3 separate regions of the Homo sapiens genome follow, and regions 1 and 2 are each linked to region 3. Evidence: promoter capture Hi-C in 16 types of primary human blood cells and fetal thymus (Javierre and others, 2016). All regions are on one chromosome and are shown on one strand. The core of a region is centred on a gene start or on the middle of the fragment in contact, and the rest is flanking DNA. Distances in the headings are between cores, read along the strand shown.

Region 1 (4,822 bases), core at 2,279-4,778, 600 kb after region 3:
AGAACAAATGTTTAAAGACAATGTTATTTTGACAAGAAATATGTTTTAGTTATCAGACTGTACCATGAAACTGCTGAAGTTGCTGCCCCGAATAACAGACTATGCTGGCTTTTATATGGGAGAAAGGCTTACTATGCATTGTATAATGTTTAATATTACCTAAAATATTGTTATTATTCACGTACATGCATTACTTTTCAATTTGAAAAACAAAACTAGTGAAGAGCATATCACAATGTGGGCAGAATAATGATACACAAATCTGGACCATATCTTTACATTCAAAATAATATAAAGAATTAAGGTAATTCATTTTTAATCAGGTATTCTCAAATGACTATTTCTATCTGTATGTATAAGAAATAAAAAAAACCATTTCAACCCCAGATAATTCTTAATAATTCTTATAAGAAATCAAAAAAAATACCATTTCTACCCCAGATAATTCTTAAATTCTTAACTTAAAAAACAAACAGAACCAGTACCACCAGAATTCAGAAATCTAGCACTACTATTCTTAAAGCAATATTTTAAAAATAATTTCAAGGTTAAATAAAGCAAGATGTTCATTTAAAAATAATTTTAATAAAACAATAGTTTCCTTTTAAAACTTTCAAAAGTTTGGTTTATAGTCACCACTTTAGCATTTTATAATATCTGCACATTACATTGTTTTATCTTTTACAACAAATATGTCACCACGAAAGAACAGTTTGACAATGAACTGATTATTTACTAAACTGTCTTTTATTACATGCTAGTCAAATTTTATGAGACACACAAGTCACAAAAGATTGGAACTAAATAGCTATTACTTCACCGAAGTTCAAATAAGAGTGTAATTCAAGAATTTTCTTGGGCTATGGCTTTATATATTTTTCTAAAATAAATACTGAATGCATGCAATTTATATTTTTATCAGAATAATTCATTTGTAACCAAACAAAACACAATTCCATCAATAAGAAAGCCAAACAGAGCTGCTTTCAGTCTTTTGCTAACCCTTTATCTTAAAAAAAATCTATCATACACATCTAATCTTACTTTACCTTCCCATCCATGTTCTCACCAAATTAAAGAATCAGGACATTTAGTACAGTGATTTTTTTTTTTTTTTTTTTTTTTTGGTCTCTGTACCAAATACAAGTCCACTCCCTCTTAGCAAGGGTTCCGGCAAGGGATCCAATTCTGAAGTGCTAAAACCCAACCAATCTTCTAAGCTCATTGCCATCATAATCCCTTGGAAAATCAGTTCCAGCTACATGTAAATTCAACTGCACCACAGAAGAGTGAAGAATCAACTCTCCATTCCCTGCCCCCTCTCCCACAACAATCCTATCTAGCTCTAAAATTCTCCACTTAGGAAAGCTCACCAACTTCTGTGAAATCAAAGGCATATATAAACATGCCACCTGCCCTATTCTGTAACTGCATGGCCAGAGACAAACATATACCAGGCCAAGAGCCAGAAGGACAGCTTAATCGCACCCTGTACTGACTGTCACTGGATAATCCTACTAAATCTTCTGTCTCAAGTTCTCATACAACAAACAGCATTGTCATTAAATACGTACATCTTAACATGTAGTGGGGAAAACATCATCTCTGGAAATACACAGGTCCGTAATTATGCAATTAAGTTTATCCACTAACACTTTCAGTAAGGGTATCGTTTTGTGATTGTGAATGACACTCAAAAAAATAATTAAATAAGGCATACAGTAGCTACACATTATCTTCAAGCAAATATGGACAATCTGAAAATTTCCTTTGCCTATTCTTATAATTACTTTACAATATAGAAAGATCTTGTAGCAACAATGGGCATTTCACATAAGTAATAAATGCTTTACTCCCTTCATCTTTCCATACTATTTTTTACCCTACTTCATCAGTAAAACAAAGTTTCAGGAGCTACAGCAAGACCATTTTCTTTCTTAAATATTTAATCCCTTTCATTATTAAATTTTCTAACAACAAAAACTGCTACTTCTCCTGGCACAGCACAGAACCAACAACCCCAGTCTTATAGACAACACAGTCCAAGCAACCACAAATCCTTTGAAATACATGAGTGACCTTACCTGAATGTTTTCCCAAGCCTTGCCTCCAAATAGTAAAGGTTGGCTTTACTGGAAATCCAATTTAGGTGAAAGCTTCTGTATCCCATTACTTACTCTATAATCCAGTTAGCTTTCTCCAAGAGATTAAGTTAAAAAAAAAAAGTTTACCAAAACCAAATCAGATCCACAAAAATAGAATACCAATAAAAGGCAGTGTAACCAAACTAAAAAAAGAAGTATCACTGAAGCCAACATACCACACATACCTGCCAAACATTCTTGTTACAAAATGATATTGTCATTTATGATTAGCATTGCCAAAACCCTTAAGCATTTATGAACACCAGGTGAACTACTAGCCGAACTATATTTATAGTGAACAAACATCCGAAAACTGAGCTAATACTTCTGAACGGGCTTCTTTCAATAATTAAATAATAAATATATAATAATAAATATTTGCTGAGCATCTGTGCTAGGGCTCAACAATGCAGTGAGCAAAAGCATGGCCCATGCTTTCACGGAGCTTCGCGCAGTAGGTAAACAGACACTACTGTTGTCCCTCAATATCCGGAGGGGGACTGGTTCCAGGACCTCCCATGGTTACCAAAATCCACAGATGCTCTGATATAAATCCAGAGTCTCTGATATAAAATGGCATCATATTTGCATGTAACTTATAAACATCCCATATACTTTAAATCACCTCTAGATTAATTATAATACCCAATACCATGTAAGTGCTATGTACATTGTTGCACTGTTTTTAAAATTTGTATTTTTTTAATTGTTGTATTGTTATTTTTTAGTTATAATATTTTTGATCCTCAGTTGAATCCAAGGATGTGGAACCCACAAACCTGGAGGGCTAACCGTACTTAAATAATCTAAGGAATGAAAAATTACAGCTGAGAAGGGAGCCAAATGGGGAAAAAATCATATACAACATGCATAGGGAGAAAATAGCAAAAGAAAGCCAACCTGGTCTAGGCTGAAGTACAATTAGGTGATCAGGCAAAGAGAGAGGACCCAGGCAGAGAAGCAGTGTGTGCAAGGAACAAGGTAGAAGGAAAGCTGGCCTGTGAGTGCAGCTCTACCAGAAGAGCTATGAGAGGGAGGTGGTGATGAGACCGCCCCGGACCCCAGCGCCCACTATCAAATGGGGATGATGGTATGATGGAGGATCACAGGACCAGGACACTTTCTTTGCACAACAGTGATCTAAAACAGAATGAGAAGCAAGTGAATTTTGTCTCCAGAGTCTCAGAGTAACATGGGGCTACAAAGTGCAGAGGAATTCGCTCTCTGGGCCACAGAGTGATTTTTAACATCTACCAAATCACAGAAACTGTGGACTTTGCACCACTGGGTCTGGGTAGGTGGATACTTTCATAAATCACCTGCTGCACATAGAAAAGCTACATATAATAATCCTTAACAAATATAATGGTTTGCAGATAATACAATTATGTATATAATTCATTAGCATTAATAAGCAAGTTCAGCAAGATTACAGGATACAAGATCAACATACAAAAATCATTTGTATTTTTCTCTATATAGTGTGAAAATGAAATTTAAAAAACAATTTACAATTGAATAATAAAAAAATACTCACAAGCCTGGACAACACAGCGAAACTCAACCCCTACAAAAATCAGCCAGGCATCATGATGCGTGCCTATAGTCCCAGTTACTCAAGAGGCTGAAGTTGAGAGGATAGCTTGAGCCCAAGAAGTCGAGGCTGCCAAGAGCCATGATTACACCCCTGCACTCCAGCCTGGGCAACAGGGCGAGACCCAGTCTCAAAAAAAAAATGTACTTAGAATAAATTTAATAATCTTTTGCTCTGGAAACTATAAAACAGTGTTGAAAGAAATAAAAAAAAAAAACCTTTAATAAATAAATCCAGGCCAAGCCCAGTGGCTCATGCCTGTAATCCCAGCACTTTTGGATGCCAAAGCGGGAGGATCACTTGAGCCCAGGAGAGTTTGAGGACAGCCTGGGCAACATAGTGGGATCCTGCCCTACAAAAAAATTTAAAAATTAGCCAGGTGTGGTGATGTGTACCTGTGGTTCTAGCTACTTGGGAGGCTGAGGCAGGAGGACCACTTGAACTCAGAGGTCAAGGCTGCAGTGAGCCATGATCATGCCACTATACCTTAGCCTGGGTGACAGAGCAAGACCCTATCTCTATAAATAATAATTTTTAAAAATCAGAAAACTTAACTTAGTTTTTTGTTTGTTTCTGTTTTAAGAGACAAGGTCTTCCTCTGTTGCCCAGGCTGGGGTGCAGTGGTGCAATCATAGTTCAAGGTAACTTTGAACTCCTAAGCTCAAGCCATACTCCTGCCTTGGCCTCCCAAAGTGCTGAGATTCAGGTGTTAGCCACCATGTGCTGCCTCTACTTTCTTTTTAAAGGGTACAATGCCAGGTACAAATAGACAATAGTTGGAGGAAATACTGATTATTCAAAAAAAGAGAGGACAGAAGAAAATACTTCACAAGGGCTTTACATATATGTGCTTTAAAATTCCATCACTCTCCTTGCAATTCTATCAGTTTAAAAAAATAATGATAAAATAAAATTCCCTCATGCTGACTTCTACCACTGTGTTCCTCCATTTTGAAAGAAACCTAGACAAAGCTGGTCAAATCAGCACTTAATAGCTAAGAAGTATGGATCATCAAGGCAGGCAGTTCACACTACCACAGGGCTGCCTACCTCAACCACGCCCTGGGCTATCTCAACATCTATG
Region 2 (4,547 bases), core at 1-2,500, 690 kb after region 3:
TATGTGCTTTATACTATTTTTTATACTGTTATTCTACAAAAACTTGTGATCAATTTATGTAGAGACCAGGCCGGGAGCGGTTGCTCATGCCTGTAATCCTAGCACTTTGGGAGGCTGAGGCGGGCAGATCACTAGGTCAGGAGATCGAGACCATCCTGGCTAACACAGTGAAACCCCATCTCTACTAAAAATACAAAAAATTAGCTGGGTGTGGTGGCGGGCGCCTGTAGTCCCAGCTACTTGGGAGGCTGAGGCAGTAGAACGGCGTGAACCCGGGAGGTGGAGCTTGCAGTAAGCCAAGATCGTGCCACTGCACTCCAGCCTGGGCGACAGCGACACTCCATCTGAAAAAAAAAAAAAAGAAAGAAAGAAAAAAAGTTTATGTAGAGACCCCTTGTGGAGTTTACTGACATTTCAAGCTTCAGTTTCAAGCATTTGATATGCGCAAAATGGTGCTCAATACATACATTGAACATAAGCCTGCTCAGTATCTTTTTGTTGGTTTAACATGGAATCAACAAACAGTAGGTGCTCATATGGTTCAAGAACAGAGTAAGCCATACCATTCAAGGGTGTTTAGTTGTTTTGTTTTGTTTTGTTATATTTTGGAGAGTGGGAGACATAATGCATATTTGACTTCATAGAAATTTCTCAAATATTTCTTGTTTCTAAGTGACTGCGTAGGCTCAACAGAACCTTCCTGGAAAACATAGATATAAAAAGAAATCACTAAAAGAACACATTGCAGTTTGCAGGTGGCTTGACTGAAAAAAAAAAAGAAAAAGAAAACACCTACTTTCCTCTCCATGGAAACAGCATGCCAGAAAATTTTGTGGACCCTTGAAATGAGCACACATCTCACTTGCAAAAGCACAGCACCAGCGCCCTCTGCTGTTTCCTGGTTTGATTTAGAACTCAGAGAAGCTACAGTACTTTCTAGACTAAAATACCATGTAGAGTTCAGGATAATTATATTCTAGATTAGACATAGGCAAGCACATTTATATTAGTACATTCTGTAGTATATTCCAGAGTGAAGGAAATCAAATCATCAAATACATTTGCATCAGAATATTTCTGCATGCTCTCTTATTGTTTTAGTATCTGTTTTTGTTTCAACTATGATCATGTAACCTGTTATTGCAAAGAAATGACTTGCAACAGTTATCTATTTACATTTATATAGTATAAACTCCCGTGACCTAGAAGAGAAACATGCAAAAAAATCTACTCAACAAAATTTAACTGATCTCTGAAAAAGATATGCATGGAAGAGAGCAGAACAACTAAATTCCATTCAGGGAGTTCTAAAACCTTTTTTCCTTTTTCTGTATTTTCAGTAGATACTGGGTTTCACCATGTTGGCCAGGATGGTCTCAATCTCCTGACCTCGTGATCTGCCCGCCTCGGCCTTCCAAAGTGTGGGATTATAGGTGGGAGCCACCGCGGCTGGCCATGTGTGGGGTTTTATGGACGAGCTTGAGGAGGCAATGTCTGATTTACATAGGCACAAGAGGGCTGAGTGCGGTGGCTCACACCTGTAATCCCAACATTTTGGGAGGCCAAGGCGGGCGGATCACGAGGTCAGGAGTTCGAGACCAGCCTGGCCAATATGGTGAAACCCTGTCTTTACTAAAAATACAAAAATTAGCTGGGCGTGGTGGCAGGCGCCTGAAATCCCACCTACTCGGAAAGCTGAGGCAGAAGAATTGCTTGAACCCAGGAGGTGGAGGTTGCAGTGAGCCGAGATCGCGCCACTGCACTCGAGCCTGGGCGACCAAGCGAGACTCCGTCTCAAACAAACATAAGCACAAGAGATTGCTTGAACCAGGTGTGCCATTTGCAAAATTGAAATGATCTCTGAATCATTTAAATCAGCATAGTGTGTGAAGAAGCTGACCATCTCACCCTAATCTTTTATCATGAAGATGAGGTTTCTACCTGGCCAGCACCACGTTGTTGCCTGCTTCTTTACTGCACACATGGTTGACAAAGAAAAGAGAAGATGGATCCTCCATGTTGCACATGCCTGGCCCCCAGGTAGCTTTCTCCTATTAGCACAGCTGCAGGGATTCATCTGTGCAAGCTTTCAGCTTGCTTGTCTATGTCTGCAGCTCAATTTTACAGGCTGCTCTTTGTTAGGAAACAAACGATTTGGGGGCTGCTTTTCATTAAAAGGAAAGCCTTGCTGAGGACTCTTACCCTCACTATCTGCCTAAATAATTTCTTTCTAGCTCCTGTATCAATAACAGCTGCTATGTTATTGTTAGTGCTACAGGTTAGTTATCTGAATTAATCAGTAATATAATAAGAGGAAACTGTTATATGAAAAATGGGCATCCACTGGATAGTTTAAAACTAATGTTTTGGCTGGGTGTGGTGGCTCATACCTGTAATCCCAGCACTTTGGAAGGCCAAGGCAGGAGGATTACTTGAGGTCAGGAGTTTGAGACCATCCTGGACAACATAGTAAGATCCCATCTCTAGCAAAAAATGTGAAAATTAGCCAGGCACGATGGTGCAGCTGTAGTCCTAACTACTCAGGAGGTTGAGGTGAGCCCAAGATATTGAGGCTACAGTTAGCTATGATTGCACCACTATACTCTAGCTTAGGTGACAGGAAGACAGTGTCTCTTTAAAAAAATGAATAATAGGCTGGGCATGGCTCACACCTGTAATCCCAGCACTTTGGGAGACTGAGGCGGGCGGACCACCCAAGGTCGGGAGTTCGAGACCAGTCTGACCAACATGGAGAAACCCTGTCTCTACTAAAAAAAATACAAAATTAGCTGGGCATGGTGGTGCAATCCTAGCTACTTGGGAGGCTGAAGCAGGAGAATCGCTTGAACCTGGGAGGCAGAGGTTGCAGTGAGTAGAGATCATGCCATTGCACTCCAGCCTGGGCAACAAGAGCGAAACTCCGTCTCAAAAAAAAAAAAATTAAAATAATAATGTATGTGTGTTTTCTTGGTTGTTGTTGTTTTAAGACAGGATCTCACTCTGTTGCCCAGGCTGGAGTACAATCTCGTTGCCAGGCTGGGGCACAATCTCGGCTCACTGCAACCTCTACCTCCTGGGCTCAAACAATCCTCACCTCAGTCTTCCCACTAGCTGGGACCACAGGTGTGCACCACCATGACCAGCTAACTTTTTTTTTCTTTTTTTGAGACAAGAGTCTTGCTCTGTCACCCAGGCTGGAGTACAGTGGTGCGATCTCAACTCACTGCAGCATCCGCCTCCTGGGTTCATATGATTCTCGTGCTTCAGCCTCCTGGGTAGCTGGGACTATGGGTGTGCGCCACCGCGCCTGGCTAATTTTTGAACTTTTAGTAAAGACAGGGTTTCACTGTGCTGACCAGGATGGTCTCGATCTCCTGACTGCGTGATCCACCCACCTCGGCCTCACAAGGTCCTGGGATTACAGGCGTGAGCCACCGCACCTGGCCAATTTTTTGTATTTTTTTTTTTTTGTAGAGATGGGGTTTCACCATGTTGCCCAGGCTGGTCTCCTGAGCTCCAGTGATCCGTACACTTTGGCCTCCCAAAGTGCTGGGATTGCAGGCATGAGCCACCATGCCCGGCCTAAAATAATAATGTTTTGAGGGAAATTTCTTTAAATTATTTTTATCTTTAGCACCAGTTATTGAGTTCCTCATTTGCTCACTTTCTCTACTGGAACTGAGAAGCTGGGGTTTACTAAATCTATGCCTTGACAATACCAATTCAAACTCTTTTCAGTTCACTAAGATAAGGAACAAGATCCCCACGTGGAGAAATAAAGCACAATCATCAAAGACAAATTGTAAACATCATTGAAACTTACACAAGAAAATGTCACATAACATTAGCTTCTTCTTCAGACTTTGAAAAAACAATCACTTGTTGTTAAAATTTTTTTAATCACATGAAAAATTTAAAATTTAATTAAATTTAAAAATTTAAATTTAAAAAATATTTAAAATTTAATTAAATTTAAAAACTACTTAAAATTAATTAAATTTAAAATGTAATTAAAAATTTAAAAATCACATTGATTCCTATAGCACTTGAAATCTCTGATTGTCCAAGGACTAAACGTTATAAGGCTTTTTGATGAGCTAAGGAAATTTTTCTCTTTTATTTTTCCTAAATATCATTTACATCTATAAATGATGAGGTAAAAGTGTGAGATTGATTCCCTGCCCTGCGCTGCCCTGAGACAGGGTCTCGCTCTGTCGCTCAGGATAGAGTGCAGTGATGCGATCATAGTTCACTGCAGCCTCAACCTCTTGGGTGCAAGCAATCCTCCTACTTCAGCCTCTTGAGTAGCTGGGACCATAGGTGTGTGCCACCACACCTGGTTAATTTTTAAAAATATTTTTTATAGAGATGGGGTCTCCCTACATTGCCCAGGCTGGTCTTGAATTCCTGGGCTCAGTTGATCCTCCCACCTCAGCTTCCCAAAGTGCTGGGATTACAGGTGTGAGCCACCACACCTGGCCTAAACTTATAAAGTTTTAAAAATATATTTGACCTACTAAAATTTACTTATGTATTTATTTTATTTT
Region 3 (4,773 bases), core at 254-2,753:
CAGAATTCAGAAGAGAAGACATAAGAAAAAAAGCATAAAGTCATCATTACCTGTATCAGAATTTGTTTAAAAAACAACCAGTGGGGCAGGTGAACTGACCAGCGTCTTCCCAGCTTTAGTCACTGCAGTGGCAATGAGGCGCTCTCCACACCCCCAGTTATGTGACAGGCTAGAGCCCTGGTGTTCTCTCTTCAGAACCCCCCTCTCCTCCTTGGCAAGCTTCAAGCAACACCCCCAAAGACGCTGCTGGATCCAAACAACAGACAAAGCTCTCCACAGGAGCAGTTCTGAGCAGCACCCTGCAATTCTAAGGAGACTGCATGGGGGCAGGACATTTTCTTCTAGAACACTGGTTAGATTCTGCTAGAACTGGGGCAAGAAAATAGCTGTATGGCATAAAGTCTACTTGAGGGAAAAGAACAACCCGGCACGGTTACGTTCAATCAGACACTAAACAGAGTGCACGCCCACCCAGGGGACACTGAGGTCGCTGGGCCAGTGTCCCCGCCTGGTTGCAGGTCCCTAACCCCTCCGGGAGTGCAGAGCTGCGGGCAGGCCACACTCACCCTGACCCTTCCTGCTCCCCAGGAAGGGAGGTCAGCCCCGTTTGCAAAACACAGGATGCCCGTGACACCGGAGACAGGTCTTCTTCACCGACAGGAAGTGCCTTCTGGTGCCTGCACGTTTTAACTAAGATGTGTCGCCAATTACTTTTAATTACTGTCGTCCACGCTATTGTCATCAGCATTTCACAAGTTTCTCGGAAGCCCATCACGCAGCCCATACCCTGCGGTTCTCCGGGGACTTATGCATCGGCCCAAGTTGAGGGTTTGTCTGAACTGAAACCCGCATCCTAGACCTGGCTTTCTTCTCCCCAAATCCAAGGGGACACCCCGGTGACCCACAAAAGCTTAGAAAATCCAACACGCAGCAAATGAAACGGGGGAAAGGGGCACCGGCCCTCACTCTGGCCTCTTAGACACACGATATGAAACCTTCATAAAACCTGTTGTACAAGTCAAAGGGGACCACGCTGGGGTAAAAGTCAAACCAGTCCATCCTCGTTCCTCTGCGTACAGAGAGAGGGTCCAGCGCGGGCGGCGCCCACTGCCATCGGGCCGGGGCCGGGGCGCGTGGACAGGAGGGTGCGGATAGAGGCAGATCGGGGGCCCGGTCGCCCCACGTGCGGCCAGACACCCATCCCGGCCGCGCTCTGCCGGCTCTGATCCGGTGCCAGACAGGAGCGACAGGGGCGAGGTGGGGACCAGCCGCCGACCTCACCTGTTTTGTTTTCTTGGAGGAAATTCCTCCGCTGGGGGGCCGAGGTGGCACCGCCCGCTCGCCCCCCGCAAGACCCAGCCGGTCCGCGCCCGCTTACCTGCTCTGCGGCCGGCGGCCCTGGCGCGGGCTCTGCGCGGGGCGGCGCCCTTCGCTCCGGCTGGGCAGGCAGGTCGGGCTCGGGCGCCGCCGGCTGTCGGGCTCTCGTCGGGTTTCGGGTGAAGGCCCCGGCTCCCACCTGCTGCGCCTTTTAACCGCGCCCCACCCCGCCTCTGCCCTGACGCGGCTCGGGCGGGCTGCGGGAGGCGAGCGCTGTCACTCGACGAGCCCCCCGCCCCCACCTACCCGGGGCGCACTAGCCGCTGGGCGCGGACCGTCCCCCTGAGGAGCAAGGAGTGCAGGACCGGGGCTGTCCCTCCGGGGCCGGATGCGCAGAGCGGGGACCTTTTTCCCGTGGCGGGGGCGCAGGGTGGGGGACCCCTAAGAAGTGCACAGTGCGCGGGGCCCTCTTTCCGGCCCTTGGAGGGAACGGGGTACCGGGGATGCAGGGGGTAGGGCTCTCCCTCGGGAGCGCAGAGGGCGGGCCCAGCCCCCTCTGCACGGGTGCAGGTGTGGGGCGCCTGCTCAGGCCCTCGAGGGAACTCTTCCTCCCTAGTGCACCCGTGGGGAGCAGTGTGAGGGGCAGGCTGTGTTTTTGCCAGGACACATCCTCAGTCTTTCTGGGTGATCCAGCCTTCTCATAGCCCGCGGGGTGCACAGACCTCTCCTATAGGAGCCTGGAGGTTCTTTATTAATTAATGACCACTTAGAGGAGGTACAGGGGTTGTTTTTATTAATTACCTCCATCCTTTGAAGACTCCTCCGGGGAAGCGGAGCAGGCCTTCCTCGGGACAGTGCACCAGGAGAGACCACATTGCCTCCCCGCTTTTCAGTCAAGACTAGAAAGCTCAGGGCCAGTACAGGGAGTGGTGCAAGGGCTGGTGGGGTGGAAACGTTGGAAGCTATTTAGGCACCTGGCTTTACAGGTTCAAACCTGTCACGCATCGGACAAAAGATGTGTGACTTGCTTATTCTACAAAACTGTTCGGTAATTAAACGTCCCCACCTAAACCATATGCCACTTGTTGGGTCATATTCTCCCACGAAACAATTAAGATGTCTGTTAAAGGTCATGGAATTTGAGCCAAGACTTCATAAAAATCCGCTTTCCAAAATATTTTATTTGAGGAGAACAAGGTTCTTAAAGAATTTGCCCAAGTCAAGTTTTAAAAACTTTGGGGAGGCCCCTGAAATGGCCTTGAACTTGGAGAGTGGAGAGACACAGAAATCTCTAGGCTTTTTAAATTTATTTATTTATTTATTTATTTATTTATTTATTTATTTATTTTGACTAAGTCTGGCTCTGTTGCCCAGGCTGGAGTGTGGTGGTGTGATCTCAGCTCATTGCAACCTCTGCCTCCCGGGTTCAAGTGATTCTCCTGCCTCAGCTTCCCGAGTCGCTGGGATTACAGGCCCGCACCACCATGCCTGGCTAGGTTTTGTATTTTTAGTAGAGCTGGGTTTCACCATGTTGGCCAGGCTGGTCTGGAGCTCCTGACCTCAGGTGATCCACCTGCCTCAGCCTCCCAAAGTGCTGGGATTACAGGCGTGAGCCACCGCGCCGAGCATCTCTAGGCTTTTTTGTTAGACATCCTCACACTGCCCAGATGTGCCCTATGCGGTAAATCTTGGGTGCTCTGTCCTGCCCCACACAATCTAACTGTGGACTTCCCAGTCTTCTCTCCATTCCTCTCCCAAACAGATGCTTCAGCCAGGCTCAGCTGTTTGCATAGTAAAATAATTTTTCTAAGCAGATTGTAAACTTCTTTGGGGATTATAAACAGTTTAAGCTTTTCTTCCTCTTCTTCTTCTTTTGCATTTCTACAATACTAAGTACTTTGCTCATAGTATGTGCTGCTCCATGAGTATTTGAATATTGCTTGGCAAAGCTGAACCAGCATAGCAGATAGTCCTGGAAATAGCTTTTGCTTTTTCTAAAGCATGCCCTGTTCTCAATCCTGCACCTGATTCCATGCAGTACTGTGTCTGAGCATTGACATCCTGGACCAGTGGAAATTGTTCTAGGACTGGTGCAGGATAGAACTTTCAAACCAAAGTTGTCACAGAGAATGTGTTGCATTTGCTCATGTGTGCAAAAATGAAACCATCTCATCACTGTGTAAAATATCTCTTTTTCTGTTCAGGTTATCTATATTAGTCTGCATGGCCTTAACATTGAACACTGTCCTTCAGTTTTTGCTACTCATCAGACAGTCTTGTTGCAGCAGAAATTAAATGTGGACTGTATAAAACTTAAGGACTTGATGGGATGCGCATTTGAAAACTGAAAATTAGTTGTCTTAGTCCATTTGTGTTGCTATAACAGAATACCATAGACTGGGTAACTGATAAAGAAAAGAAATTTATTTTTCAGAATTCTAGAGGCTGGGAAGTCTGATATCAAGATGCTCGCATCTGGCGAGGGTTTTCTTGCTGTGTCTTCCCATGGCAGAGGTGGAGGGGCAAAAGAATGAGAAGATAGGGAAAGAAAAGAGAGAGAGGTGGGGGTGGAGAGAGAGGAAGGGGTTCAAACTCATTGTTTTTTCAGGAACCCACTCTCAAGATAACTAACCCACTCTAGAGATCACAGCATTAATCCATTCATGAGGGCAAAGCCATCATACCTCCTCACCTCTTAAAAGTCCCTCCCATCTTTCAACACTGTTTCATTGGGGATTAAGTTTCCAACACATGGACTTTAGGGGACACATTCAAACCATAGCATTCTGTCTTAGCCCCCCAAATTCATGCCTTTCTCACATGTGAAATACATTCATTCCATCCCAATAGTCCCCAAAGGCTTAACTCTTCCAGCACCAACTGAAAAGTTCAAATCCAGAGTCCCATCTAAATCAGATAAAGCTAAGACTCCAAGGCAGGCATAGCTGGCCTGAGGCAGACTCCTTTCCAGCTGTGAACCTGTGAAATCAAAACAGGCTATCTACTCCCAAAAGACAATGGTGGGGCAGGCATAGGAGAGATATTTTCATTCCAAAAGGGAGAGAGAGGCAGGAAGAAAGGGGTAACTGGTTCCAGCTACATCTAGAACCCAACATGCATGTGTTAGGCTGTTTTTGCATTGCCACAAATAAATACCCGAGGCTGGGTAATTTATAAAGAAAAGACAGGCCGGTGTGGTGGCTCACGCCTGTAATCCCAGCACTTTGGGAGGCTGAGGCAGGAGGATTGCTTGAGCTCAGGAGTTTAAGACCATCCTGGGCAATATAGTGAGACCTCATCTCTACTAAAAAAAAAAAAAAAAAAAAAAATTAGCTGGGTGTGATGGTGTGTGCCTGTAGTCCCTGTTACTCAGGAGGCTGAGGCAGGAGGATCACTTGAGCCTGGGTGATGGAGGCTGCAGTGAGCTATGATCTTGCCACTGTGCTCCAGCCTGAG

Evidence for each region. Contacts are between HindIII fragments. The CHiCAGO score rates a contact against its expected background, and 5 or more counts as called.
Region 1: a fragment that was not itself captured here is called in contact with the fragment with the promoter of GJB6 in region 3 in 1 of 17 cell types (total CD4 T cells); the score reaches 5.8 in total CD4 T cells.
Region 2: a contact is called between a fragment that was not itself captured here and the fragment with the promoter of GJB6 in region 3, in 1 of 17 cell types (fetal thymus). The highest score is 5.4, in fetal thymus.

The regions. Positions count from the first base shown.
Region 1 is chr13:20,830,703-20,835,524 of GRCh38, forward strand. The region is part of intron 6 of XPO4 (exportin 4); the gene reads right to left. Among named protein-coding and RNA genes, the nearest start is that of EEF1AKMT1, 59 kb to the left of the region's middle. The HindIII fragment of the contact is 2,748 bases long and covers 2,155-4,822 here.
Region 2 is chr13:20,924,108-20,928,654 of GRCh38, forward strand. No RefSeq gene overlaps it. Among named protein-coding and RNA genes, the nearest start is that of LINC00367, 23 kb to the right of the region's middle. The HindIII fragment of the contact is 1,667 bases long and covers 418-2,084 here.
Region 3 is chr13:20,230,816-20,235,588 of GRCh38, forward strand. It overlaps GJB6 (gap junction protein beta 6), which reads right to left and starts at 1,504. Exons shown (of 5, transcript NM_001110219.3): 1 at 1,379-1,504; 2 at 567-690. The HindIII fragment of the contact is 2,257 bases long and covers 909-3,165 here.